2 separate regions of the Homo sapiens genome follow, and region 1 is linked to region 2. Evidence: promoter capture Hi-C in 16 types of primary human blood cells and fetal thymus (Javierre and others, 2016). All regions are on one chromosome and are shown on one strand. Each heading gives the region's core, a stretch centred on a gene start or on the middle of the fragment in contact. The rest is flanking DNA. Distances are from core to core; before and after follow the strand shown. Region 1 overlaps IDH2 (isocitrate dehydrogenase (NADP(+)) 2). Region 2 holds the start of PEX11A (peroxisomal biogenesis factor 11 alpha).

What was found. The method cuts DNA at HindIII sites, captures the fragments that hold promoters and counts their contacts. A CHiCAGO score of 5 or more calls a contact.
Region 1: a fragment that was not itself captured here is called in contact with the fragment with the promoter of PEX11A in region 2 in 1 of 17 cell types (megakaryocytes); the score reaches 5.1 in megakaryocytes.

The regions. Positions count from the first base shown.
Region 1 is chr15:90,091,901-90,098,584 of GRCh38, forward strand. All of the region lies in intron 1 of IDH2 (isocitrate dehydrogenase (NADP(+)) 2), which reads right to left. Among named protein-coding and RNA genes, the nearest start is that of IDH2-DT, 6.9 kb to the right of the region's middle. RefSeq lists an enhancer at 3,526-4,050. The HindIII fragment of the contact is 4,065 bases long and covers 1-3,454 here.
Region 2 is chr15:89,688,763-89,695,966 of GRCh38, forward strand. PEX11A (peroxisomal biogenesis factor 11 alpha) reads right to left here and starts at 1,992. Exons shown (of 3, transcript NM_003847.3): 1 at 1,815-1,992. The coding sequence starts at 1,870. It overlaps WDR93 (WD repeat domain 93), which reads left to right and starts at 2,049. Exons shown (of 17, transcript NM_020212.2): 1 at 2,049-2,095. RefSeq lists an enhancer at 1,827-1,916. The HindIII fragment of the contact is 13,947 bases long and covers 356-7,204 here.

The DNA of each region.
Region 1 (6,684 bases), core at 172-2,671, 400 kb after region 2:
ACGGACTGTTGGGAACTGGGCCACACAGCAGGAGGAGAGCTGCAGGTGAGTGAGCACTACTACCACCTGAGCTCATGCCTGGGAACTGCGCACACGAGGGATCTAGGTTGCATACTCCTTATGAGAATCTAATGCCTGATGATCTGTCACTGTCTTCCAGCACCTCCAGATGGGACTGTCTAGTTGCAGGAAAGCAAGCTCAGGACCCCCCGATTGTACATTATGGTGAGCTATATAATTTTTTCATTATATATTACAATGTAATAATAATAGAAATAAAGTGCACAATAAATGTAATGCACTTGACTCATCCCAAAACCATCCCCGCTGCCCACCACCCTGCCACCCGTGGAAAAATTGTCTTCCATGAAACTGGCCCCTGGTGCCAAAAACTTTGGGAACTGCTGGTTTAGAGCACCTGGATCCATCCATCCTTACTTACTTCCTTTCCTTTCTTTCCTTCCTTTCCTTTCTTTCCTTCCTTCCTTCCTTTCGTTCCTTCCTCCCTTTCTCTCTCTCTTTCTTGGCAGGGTCCTGTTCCATTGGTCAGGCTGGAATGCACTGATGCCATCATAGCTTACTGCAGCATTGACTTCCTGGCTTCAAGTGATCCTCTGACCTCAGCCTCCCAAGTAGCTGGGACTACAGGCGCATGCCACCACACCCAGCTATTTTTAATTTTTTTTTTTTCTGAGACGAAGTTTCGCTATTGTCCCCCAGGGTGGGAGTGCAGTGGCATGATCTCAGCCCACTGCAACCTCCGCCTCCCGAGTTCAAGTGATTCTCGGGCCTCAGCCTCCCAAGTAGCGGGGATTTCAGGTGTGCACCACAACACCTGGCTAATTTTTTGTATTTTTAGTAGAGACAGGGTTTCACCATGTTGGCCAGGCTGGTCTCAAACTCCTGACCTCAAGTGATCCACCTGCCTTGACCCCCGCAAAGTGCTGGGATTACAGGCGTGAGCCACCGTGCCAGCCTAATTTTAAAATTTTTTTGTAGAGATGGAGTCTTGCCCTGTTGCCCAGGCTGGCTGGACTCCCCACCCCACCCCCACTTTAATCTGGCTAGGTAGAACTACCCAAAAACATGCCCAGCCCACCAGTGGCCAAGAGGGTGGGGGCCAGTCTGGCCTGTCAGACCCTCTCCCCCTGGAATATGAAGGCAGAGGAGATCAACACAAAGAACACTGGCTAGCTGCGGCTGCCTCATCCAGCACCAAATCAGTAAGAGGTTGTCCAGGGGCTCCTGCCATCCAGTTCCTAAGGAGGGCCTGGGTCCTCTTTTATGTATTTACTTATTGTTTAGAGTCAGGGTCTCTTTATCTCTCTCTGTTGCCCAAGCCAGGCTCAGACTCCGGGGCTCAAGCAATCCTTGCACCTCAGCCTCCTTAGTAGCTGGGGCTACAGGCCCATGCCAAGATATTACTTTTGTCCAAGACTTAGTTCTTTATAGTTTTCCCTGCAATTCTATGAGCTACGCTGTGTAGCTCATAATAAAATCCTCTCCAAGTTAACCAGTCACTAACTTTGTCTGTTGCGTGCAACCCAAGAGCCCTCAACTAACTTGTGGTGATAAAGGAAATAGTATAGATAGGTATTGAGTGCCTACTATGTGCCTTACAGTGTACCAATGCTGTACAATGTGATTCCATTTAATCCCAAAAACAACCCCAAGGAGGTATCATTACCTCCATTTTATTTAATTAATTAATTTATTTATTTATTTATTTATTTTTTGAGACAGAGTCTTTGGTCTGTCACCCAGGCTGGAATGCAATGGCGTGATCTCGGCTCACTGCAACCTCTGCCTCCCGGGTTCAAGCGATTCTGCTGTCTCAGCTTCCTGAGTAGCTGGGATTACAGGCACACGCCACCAGGCCCGGCTAATTTTTGTATTTTTAGTAGAGACGGGGTTTTGCCATGTTGGCCAGGCTGGTCTCGAACTCCTAGCCTCAGGTGATCCACCCACTTTGGCCTCCCAAAGTGCTGGGATTACAGGCGTGAGCCACCACGCCTGGCCATTATCTCCATTTTAAGTGTGGGAAACTGAGGCTCAGAGAGGTTAACAGCTTACTGCCCAAGGTTACAGAGCTTGAAAACAGCAGAGTCACGAGGACTCTGACCCTATTCAACAGGAAGGACAGGCTTACAGCACCTGCGAATGGAACTCAGAACCCTTGATCCCAGCCGACGCAGGTGGGTCAGTCCTACCAGAGAAGCATCAAAGGACTCAATGAGGGGCTGATCAGAGGTCCAGGGAGACCAGTGGAGGGTAGGGGGCAGGGGACGCTACTGAAGGAGAGTCTGACTCGCAGGAATACCCAACAGTCTGGGAAGTGAATTTCAAAGAAAACTCAGGAACTGGCCACCTAACAATGAATCAGTACAGCTGCCTTGGACAAGGCTTGTTGAACCTCAGCCTGCAGCAGATAGGGGCACCGGGGCACCAGCCTGCTCCTCTGCCCACAGCCTGGGAAGAAGCAGCAAATGCAGAGCAGGGAACAAGATCTAATAAAACTTCAGTCACAGGGAAATCTCACCAGCTCAGCTGAGAGCTGTGCCCTTTCCTCAAAGCAGCACTCCTCAGCCTCACTTACAGCCCAATTACTCTTGTGTTACACACAGTCCTTAGAGAGGTGGTGATGTGTCTTCAGCTCCACTCTAGATTAGACACAGCAAATCAGGTGAAGGGAAGAGAATGATTATTTGAAAACACTGGGTTGGGGCTGGGTGTAATGGCTCATGCCTGTAATCCTAGCACTTTGGGAGGCTGAGGCAGGTGGATCACTCAAGGTAAGGAGTTCAAGACCAGCCTGGCCAACATGGTGAAACCCCATCTCTACTAAAAATAGAAAAATTAGGCATGGTGGCACGTGCCTATAATCCCAGCTACCGAGGAGGCTGAGGCAGGAGAATCGCTTGAACCCGGGAGGTGGAGGTTGCAGTAAGCCAAGATCACGGCACTGCACTCCAGCCTGGGCAACAGAACGAGACTCCATCTCAAAAAAACAAACAAACAAACAAAAAAAACTGGGTGGGAAGAACTGACAAGGGACAGAATACCTGTGAAAAGCAGGCCTAGAAACCACCTCGGCACATTTAAAACAAAAGTGATTAAAGCCTAACAGACCTCAAACAACTGACTTTCCAAAGATATGCAAAGAGTTTGTTTTTTTTTTTTAATCTAAAAATAATCTTAGAGATCATTTAGGGGGAATAATGAGACTCAGAGAGTGTGGTCTGCATCAGAGGCAAGATAGAGCCCAGGTCCCTGACCCAAATGCAGCCTCTGGAAGACCCGTGGGTCAGATGTAGAGAAGCAGAACACAAACACAGCCTTGGACTATTCCATTCCCTAGAGAACAAAAGGTGGCTGGCTGCTGGCTCTACTGCCTTTCCCAAGACGCGATGGGGATTTTGAACCCAATCTACAATATTCCTTCACTTTTTTCTGAAGCTTGAGTGGAAAGAGCTGCAGAACCTGCGGAAAGTCTGTTGAGCTGTTGCAGAGCTAGTTTAGTTCTGGGGAGCATCTCCTATGAGTTAATTTGAGGACAGCTAATCAAATTTGTTAAAAAAAAAAAAAAATGAACTATCATAATCAGGAGCCCTAAGGAGAGACTCACTTGGGGCCAGTTCTTCAGGTTTCAGCCTCAGCCTGGGCTCCACGGTTGGGCTTCAGGCAGGCATGGCTAGGAGAGTTCAAGGTCAAGATCAAAGACCTGATGTGTCAAACCCTCAGAGACCACAGGACCTGATTATTTACTCACCGGCAGGTGCTAACTAAGCACTTATCCAGTACCCCACTGGGATACTGAAATGCCTAAAACACAACAGTGCCTGCCCGGAGGCAGTGAATGTGGAAGGGGAAACCTACAGGTAACAGAGAGAGAGCAAGCAGGGCTGTCACCAAAGTCAGGAGTGCCCAGGCCTCCCTGGAAGCAAACATCCCAGGGGAACTGAGAACAGCAACATGAGCCAAGGCCAGCAGAGACTTGTTCTGCTTGTTCCAGGTACTGGTTTTTTAAAAAAATCTTAATTGGTGACCAAGTTTTAAAAATCAGTAAATCTCAACAATAAAACAAATAACTCAACGTTAAAATGGACAGAAGACTGGCTGGGCACCGTGGCTCATGCCTGTAATCCCAGCACTTTGGAAGGCTGAAGAGGGCAGATCACTTGAGGTCAGGAGTTCGAGACCAGCCTGGCCACAATGGTGAAACTCTGTGTCTACTAAAAATAGAAAAAAAATTAGCCTGGTGTGGTGACACACACCTGTAGTCCCAGCTATTTGGGAGGCTGAGGCAGGAGAATTGCTTGAACCCAGGAGGTGGAGGTTGCAGTGAGCAGAGATCATGCCACTGCACTCCAGCCTGGGTAACAGGAAGACTCCATCTCAAAATAAATAAATAAATATAATGGACAAAAGACTTAAATAGACATTTCAAGTCCAAAGATGATATACAAATGGCCAACAAGCACATGAAAAGATGCTCAACATCACTAATCATCAGGGAAATGCAAATCAAAACCATAATGAGATATCACCCCACTATCCCCTCACAACCACTAAGAGAGCTACTATCAGGAAAAGAAAAACAAAACAGAAAATAAAGTGCTAGCAAGGATGTGGAGAAATTGGAACTCTTGTGCCCTGTTGGTGGGAATGTGAAATGGTGCAGCTGCTGTGGAAAACAGTATGGGTGTTCCTTAGCTAAAAGGAAAAGAATTACTGCCGGGCACGGTGGCTCGCACCTGTAATCCCAGCACTGTGGAAGGCTGAGGCGGGTGGATCACGAGGTCAGAAGATCGAGACCATCCTGGCTAACACAGTGAAACCCTGACTCTACTAAAAATACAAAAAATTAGCCAGGCGTGGTGGCAGGCGCCTGTAGTCCCAGCTACTGGGGAGGCTGAGGCAGGAGAATGGCATGAACCCGGGAGGCGGAGCTTGCAGTGAGCTGAGATCGCGCCACTGCACTCCAGCATGGGCGAAAGAGAGCAAGACTCCGTCTCGAAAAAAAAAAAGAAAAGAAAAGGACAAGAATTACTATATGATCCAGCAATTCTGCTTCTGTATATACATCCAAAAATATCGAAAGCGGGGTCTGAAAGAGATATATGTATGCCCACATTCATAGCAGCAATGTTCACAACAGCAAAAGATAGAAGCAACCCACGTGTCCATCACAGATGAATGGATAAAGACAATGTGATACAGTCCCCCCTTATCAAAGGTTTTATTTCCATGACGTCAGTTACCTGTGGTGTCAGTTACCCACAGTCAACCATAGTCTGAAAATAGGTGAGTACAGTACAGTAAGATATTTTAAGAGATCACATTCATGTAACTTTCATTACAGTATATTGTTATAATTGTTCTATTTTATTACTAGTTATTATTGCTAATCTCTTACTGTTCCTAATTCATAAATTAAACTTTATCATAGATCTGTATGTATAGGAAAAAAACATAGTATCTACAGGCTTTGCAGTTTCAGGTATCCACTGGGGATCTTGAAATGCATCCTCCAAGGATAAGGGGGACTACTGTTATCTACATACAATGGAATATGATTCAGCCTTGAAAAGAAGGGAAATTCTGACACCTGCTACAAAGTGGATGAACCTGGGGGGCATTATGCTAACTAAGTGAAATAAACCAGTCACAAAAGACAAATACTATATGCTTCTACTTACATGAGGTACCTAGAATAGTCAAATTCATAGAAACAGAAAGTAAAAAGGTGGCTGCCAGGGACTGGGGACGGGAAGTGGGGAGGTATTGTTTCATGGGTAGAGAGTTTCGGTTTTGCAAGGTGACAAAGTTCTGGTGATGGATGGTGGTAATGTCTGCACAACAGTGCGAATGTACTTAACAATACTGTACACTGAACAATGACTAAGATGGTAAGTTTTATACGTTTTTTACCAAAATAATAAAAATTTAAACCAGTCAAAAAAAATCAGGAGATTTTATATAAAAATCTAGAAATGCAGCAGGCACTCACTCATGGCAAGGATGGGCTGGGCTGAAGGCGGCCTCTCCCTTCACTCCATGACAGCCAAGTGCCCTCCAGTGTGGCCCAGGGCACTGGAGTTTGAGACCCCTGTCTGCTGTTCAGCCTGTATGGTGGAGATACAGCCATGGTCTGCCCTTCTCTGAGAGATAAGTGGTGACAAGCTACCTGAAATACACAGAGCAGCAGCTAGGCCTCCCTGAAAACCTCCGAAGTGACAGCCACCACGAATCTTCAGCTGATGCATTGCACAAACACTGTCCTCTTGGCGAGAGTGCAGGATGGAATTACACCAGTCACCAGAGGCACGTTAGGCTGACTCTCCTCCCTGTCTGGGGCTCCTAGCACCCAATACCAAGTAAGGATTTCAAAACACATCCCTGGCTTCTTGCTGCTCCCAGCAGGAGGCTAGAGGTCCAGCCGCAGGCAGCCAGCCCCAGGCATAACTGCTCCCTCCACATTCCTACCCATGCTCTCAGCAGAAAGGCTGCTCAGTCAGCATGTCCCAGCAAAAGATCAGAGAGTGGGGAAAGGTTCCAATTCCTGGGGGCTCAAGAAGGCAGGACAGCAACTTTGTATATTTTATGTATGTATGTATGTATGTATGCATGCATGTATGTATGTATGTATGTATGTATGTATTGAGACAGAGTCTCACTCTGTCG
Region 2 (7,204 bases), core at 742-3,241:
TGGAGTGCAGTGGCGTGATCTTGGCTCACTGCAAGCTTTGCCTCCTGGGCTCATGCCATTCTCCTGCCTCAGCCTCCTGAGTAGCTGGGACTGCAGGCGCCCACCACAACGCCCAGCTAATTTTTGTATTTTTAGTAGAGACAGGGTTTCACCATGTTAGCCAGGATGGTCTCGATCTCCTGACTTTGTGATCCGCCCACCTCAGCCTCCCAAAGTGCTGGGATTACAGGTGTAAGCCACTGCACCCGGCCTAAATGATTATTTTTTTAACCAACTTCCTTGATAAACCCTGCAGGGTACATTCTAGGTACACTGGAATTACAGGTTTCTATTTAATGAAATTTCTATTTAATGAAGCTTGTATATAAAGTAACCATTTAAAAAACCTATCAAACTAATGAGAAAGCCAGTATAGCTTGGTAGTTAAGTGGGCACTGGAGTCATTTGCGTGGATGTGAATCCCTCAGTTCTGCCATTGTAGTACCTATTAACCTCTTTCTGCTTCAGTTTCTCCATCTGAAGTGGGTAAAATATTTAGAGTATCTACCTCATAGGGTTGTGATGAGGGTTATATAAGTTCATAGTTGCAAAACACTGGGAACAATAGCTGTCATAAAGATGGCTTCCAAAAGCCTCATTATTGGGGCCATTCTAATTGATCTGTTTGTATCAGCACTTGCACACCCAGAAGAGAATGCAGAGCTGTTAAATAAAACTGCAACTGTAAATATTTTTTCATTAAGCAAGAATCAACCAAATCTCTAAAACATCATGAACTAGTACTGTATTCGTATTAAAGATACAATCTCTCAGTTCTTTTCGTTTCTTATGGAACCAAAAGAAAAAGAGACACAATCTCTGTTTAATATTTTCAGTAGCACAGCATGAACCTTAGAGGTGCAGTTAGTTCTTTCTGAGCTTCTCCCCACTGTATTTCCCCCCAATCCAGTTGGTGTGGTCTCATCCCCGCTATATTTTGTTTTACAATTTACAAAACTATTCCACATGCAGTATCTCAATGATACAGCCTGGGTAATAATGGAAGAGAACTTCTGTCTCTCCTCAAACATTTCAAGAGGTATTTGAGACCGGGCGCGGTGGCTCGCACCTGTAATCCCAGCACTTTGGGAAGCCGAGGTGGACAGATCACCTGAGGTCAGGAGTTCGAGACCAGCCTGGCCAACATGGCGAAACCCCCGTCTCTACTAAAAATACAAAAAGTAGCCGGGCGTGGTAGTGCACGCCTGTAATCCCAGCTACTCAGGAGGCTGAGGCAGGAGAATCGCTTGAACCCGGGAGGCAGAGGTTGCAGTGGGCCGAGACCGCGCCACTGCCTGGGCGACAGAGCGAGACTCCGTCTCAAAAGAAAAAAAAAAGAGAGATATTTGAAGTCACACCAAGTGGTTTGCTTCCCTAGCCACAAATACTAATCCAAAGTTTCTCTTTAAAGGAGATCCCTCGGAAGAATGTTGAGTGGAGAGAACCAATCTTTCTGTGCCCGGAGAGCAAAGTTAGGAGGGGAGGAGGATCTGTCAGCCGGTGTCCCGTCGTCGGCGGTCTCGAGGCGGCTAGGGTGCCAGGCACTGGGGCTTTCGTGCACGGGGCTAGGACGGGACGCGGGTGCGTTGGGCCCACTCACGTTGAATTTAGGGTAAGGAGGGGCTCGGATACTAAACTCCCTCCGTAGGAGCTGGCAACGTCCTTCCTGCTTCCATCTACTAGGCTATCACCTCCTTTTTCCCGGGTGCAGGGGAATAGGCACGGGAGCCGAGTTAGGGCGAGAAAGGGGCGGAGGCCGCTGGCACCTGACTCACCTGAAGAGTCGGTCCCGGCCCTGGGTCTGGTTGGTGAAGCGGGTGAAGGCGTCCATGGCTTCTAGCCCAAAGGCCACGAGTCGCACGGGGCTCAGGCGTGGGTCCTCTGGGGCCCGTCGGATCCCCAGGGAACGGTCAGTCCCAGGTTATCCGCTGAGGGGGAGGGGCTGAGTCTCTCCGCCCCAGAGGGGGCGGGCACACTTTCTGTAGAGCAACTTCGCGGACTTCCGGTTCAAGCCGGAAGTTGTGGTTACCAAGGCGACGCAACGCCGCCCGGCCAGGTGAGCAAAACTGATCTTACCTTTGGATGCCGGGGCTCCCCTCGAGTCCCAGGACTCCCCTTTACCTGTAGAGTCTCCTAGAGGAAAGTCTGAGGGGGTCCGTCTCCCCAGACTCGGGCGTTTCCGGATGCCTGACGCCTCCCCGCAGATCTCAGGTTCTCAGGAACCCGGGGTGATATCCCGAATGGTCTCTCCAGCCTCAGAACTCCCCTGAGCTCTTGCTTGGGACGGTGGGGCCTAATCATTTCCCAGCGCCGTGCCTCTTTCCCTTGAGCTACACCAGCTCTATGTCTGGTGAAGGAAGTGGTTAGGTCAGAGATAAGCCAATTTCACAGTGTGAACCTAGCATGGGAGGCGGATGAAGTGAGAAAATGTTCTGCTTGGATTATTGAACATTGAAAGAAGATTGTTACCTGAGGAAATCCTAAAAGAGTCATTATGAGCAAAGTGAAGCAAAAATAGATTGCAATGAAATTGCACCGCTGAACATTCGTTCTGTGCGGCTTGAAGAAAAGGAGCCTTACCCACTCCGTGGCAGTAATTTTATAAAATGTACCCTCTATAACCACAAAATAAGGTCGGCCGGTGCTGTGGCTTACGCCTGTAATCCCAACACTTTGGGAGCCGAGGTGGGCGGATCACCTGCGATCAGGAGTTGGAGACCAGCCTGGCCAACAGGGTGAAACCCCGTCTCTACTAAAAATACAAAAAAAGTAGCCGGGCGTGGTGGTGGGCGCCTGTAATCCCAGCTACTCGGGAGGCTGAGGCAGGAGAATCGCTGGAACCCAGGAGGCGGAGGTGGCAGTGAGCCGAGATTGTGCCACTGCTTTCCAGCCTGGGCGACAGAGCGAGACGCTGTCTCAAAAAAATAAAATAAAATAAAATAAGGTGAACATTTTCGTAATCTTTATTCCCTTGGTCAGGCCAGCTCCTAACATTTGCAGGCCCTGGGTAAGAGTACAAATGGAGTCCAGCACACCGTATGTTTAAATATTTTAGTTATAAATCAAGCAACAAATTGTAAAGTAAAATATAGTCTGTTTTCCTACATTGACAAATAGACCCTCATAATGATGTAGAAGGCCAGGTTCATCTTCAGAATCCCTAGACTCCTTAGAATACCTGGAAACACAGCTGGAATATGGCAGTGTGGGGAGAAATGGCTCCCAGTCTTTTCCCACTTCCCTTTCTTTTCTGGTTTCTGGTGCCCACCTGCATTCCCTGCCAGGAGCCTTGTATACCATCCTGATACTCCAAGCCACATCCAACGTCTGCCCGTACCTCTGCAAGCAGCCATGCCTTTGCCACCTTTTCAGATCGAGGAGTGCTCACATTAGCAGCTGGGTCTGCCCTCAGGTGAAAGCTGAGAAGGGCTCATGCAGGCCATGGTGTCATTTGGGCAGTAAATTCCAGGGGTATTGGTACCCTGAACATGGTCTAGACTCCAGAAGAGGGAAACTAGGCTTTGGGTGAGCATATCTCCTTGGCCCCATGGGTTACTCATTTTTTGTAGAGGAAAGAGCCTCGAAGAGAGCCAGAAGTTTTCTCTAAATACGTGGCCCAGGTCAGGGCAATTCTGCAAGCAATGAGAATTTATTGAGTCCTGGCCATATACCAACCACTGTGCTAAACTCTAGTCGTAGGGTAATAGGTTAACAAGGAACACAGTAAACTGATAAGTACAACACAGAGATATGTTAGATGATAGAGGTGAGCACAGGGTGCTTCTAAACACAGATGTGTATCATCTGTTTTTTGTTTTTGTTTTTGAGACAGAGTTTTGCTCTTATTGCCCAGGCTGGAGTGCAATGGCGCAATGTCAGCTCACTGCACCCTTCGTCTCCCGGGTTCAAGCGATTCTCCTGCTTCAGCCTCCTGAGCTGGGATTACAGGCATGCGCCACCACGCATGGCTGATTTTTTATATTTTTAGTAGAGATGGTGTTTCACCATGCTGGTCAGGCTGGTCTGGAACTCCTGACCTCAGGTGATCCACCTACCTCGAGCTCCCAAAGTTCTGGGATTACAGGTGTGAGCCACCACGCCTGGCCTCATCTGTTTTTTATACCTACAATTCTGCCTTTTTCACAATATCATATAAATTGAATCATATAGTATGTAGCGTTTTCTTTTCTTTTCTGATTTATTTTACTTAGCATAATGCATTTGAGATTATCTATGTTGTGCACATCAGTAGTTTGTAATTTTTTATTCCACAATGTGAATGTATTATAATTCATTATCCATTCACCCACTGAAGTACATTTGTGTTGTCTCTAATTTGAAGCCATTATAAATAAAGCTGCTATAAATATTTAAGTACAGATTTTGATGTGAAACATAAGTTTTAATTTTCCTACTGTAATATGCAGGAATGTGATTGCTGAAACATATGGTATGTTTAACTTTGTAAGAAACTGCCAAACTGTTTTCCAAAGTGGCTATCCTATTTTGTATTACCACTGACAATGCGTGAGAGCTTATCTGTTTGCCTGTTGGTGGACATTGGGTTGTTTCCACTTTGGGGCTCCTACAAATAAAGTTGTAATGACTGTTCGTGTACAAGTCTTTGTATGGACATATGTTTTCAGTTCCCTTCTACCACTCCTAAGAGTGGAATGACTGGATATGATGGTAGATAATGTGTTTAACTGTCCTGCAGGGGACAGGCCTATGCAAACCTACCCCTAAAAGTCTGAGAAAGCTGAGAGGCCAAAGCAAGAGGCTGACATACCCAGTTTCTCAGAAACAAACATTTAATAAATAAATACAATTTAAACAAACAAACAGAAGCCATGTCTCAGGAGCAAGACAAGATGGTGGATCCCTGCCATTATCCACCAGACCCAGGGTTTCTGTGCTATAGAGAAAGGTGCTTCAGAAGGAATGTGTAAGATAATTGCTTAAGGACAGAATTTATGGCAAGAATGATAACATCAAGGTTGTTTTGACCTAAGGGCAATATTTACAGTAAGTGGTGCTCTTACACAAGGAATGAGTCAAATGGAAATCTTAGAGGTTTTTCTGGAACTGGGGATAATCAGAAGTTAACATGGAGGATTAGCATCTAAGATGGAGTTGCTTTGGCCTCCACATTAGCGTTTTAAGAAATTGCCAAACTGTTTTCCAAACCAGTTGTACTATTTTGGTTTCCCAATAGTGTGTATGAGCATTCTTATTGTACATCTTCAACAACACTTTCATGGTCTATCTTTTTAACTTTAGGCATTTTAATATACGTGTAGTGGTATCTCATGATTTTAATTTGCATTTCACAAATGACTAATGATGCTGAACATCTTTTTATGAGTCTATCTGCCATCTGTATATCTTCTTTGGTTAAGTATCTGTACAAATTTTTTGCACATATTTAAAAATTGTTGGGTTATTTCTTTTTTTTTTTTTTTTTTTTGAGATGGAGTCTCGCTCTGTCGCCCAGGCTGGAGTGCAGTGGCACGATCTCGGCTCACTGGTTTCACACCATTCTCCTGCCTCAGCCCCCCGAGTAGCTGGGACTACAGGTGCCCACCGCCATGCCCAGCTAATTTTTTGTATTTTTTAGTAGACATGGGGTTTCACCATGTTACCCAGGATGGTCTCGCTCTCCTGACCTCATGATCTGCCCGCCTTGGCCTCCCAAAGTGCTGGGATTACAGGCGTGAGCCACTGCACCCGGCCGGGTTACTTCTTTTATTACTGAGTTTTGAGAGTTTTAAAAATACTCTGGACAAAAGTACTTTATCAGATAAGTGACTTGCACATATATTTTCTCCCCATCTGAGGATTACCTTTTATTCTCTTAACAGTGTGTTTTGAAGAAACACAAGTTTATTTTTGAAAAGGTTTAAATGACCAGTTTGTTCTTTTTAGGTTATACTTTAATGTCATATCTAGGAAATCTTTGTCTAAGAGAAGATTGCCAAAGTTTTCTTCTAGAAGTTTTATAGTTTTCAGTTTTACATTTAGGTGTATGATTTTACTTTGAGTTAATTTTTGCATATGGTGCAAGGTATGGATCGGCATTCATTTTTTTCCTATATAGATATCTAATTGCTCCAGCATTATTTGCTGAAAAGAATATCCTTTTTCCACCGAATTGTCTTTGTGCTTGTGTCAAAAATAAGTTCTCCATATATGTTTGCATCTAATTTAGGACTCCCTATTTGATTTCATTGATCTGTTTGTTTATTTTGATACCAATACCACACTGTCTTGAATATTGTAACTTTGTGATAAGTCTTGAAATTAAGTAGTGTTAGTCCTCCAATTATGAGTTGTAAAGTTAGCTTCTTAATTTCTGGAAAAAAAAAAGCCACCTGGGATTATCATAGGGATTGTGTTGAATTTGTACATGAATTTGAAAAGAATTGACATTTTAACAAAATTGAGTCTTCCAACTCATAAATAAGGTATCACACTCTCCATTTATTTAGGTCTTCTTTAATTTCTGTCAGCAATATTTTATAGTTTTCAGTATGTGGGTGGGTGTTTTTTAGAGAGGGAGTTTCGCTGTATTGCCCAAACTGGAGTGCAGCAACATGATCATAGCTCACTGCAACCTTGAACTCCTGGACTCAAAGCAATCCTCTCACCTCAGCCTGCTGAGCTGCTAGAATTACAGGTGCAAGCCACCTTGCCTAGCCCAGGATACAGGTTTTATATATCTTTTGTCAGATTTATCCCTAAGTAGTTCATGTTTTTGATACTGTTGTAAATGGTATTTTTATTTCAATGTTTGGTTTGTTATTGCCAGTACATAGAAATACAATCAGTTTTTGTATATTGAACTTGTATCTTACCACCTTGCTCTCCTCATTTATTAGTTCTAGAAAATGTTTTTGTAGATTTCCTCAGATTTCCTATATAAGCATATCATCTGGAGATAAAGACAGCTTTATGTTTTTCTTTCCACTGATGAAGTAGTTCCATCACTCCAAAAAACTCCCTCATGCTGTCCTTTTTTTTTTTTTTTTTTTTTGAGACAGAGCCTCACTCCGTCACCCAGGCTGGAGTGCAATGGCACAATCTCAGCTCACTGCAACCTTTGCCTCCCAGATTCAAGCGATTATTGGTCCTCAGCCTCCTGAGTAGCTGGAATTACAGGCACACA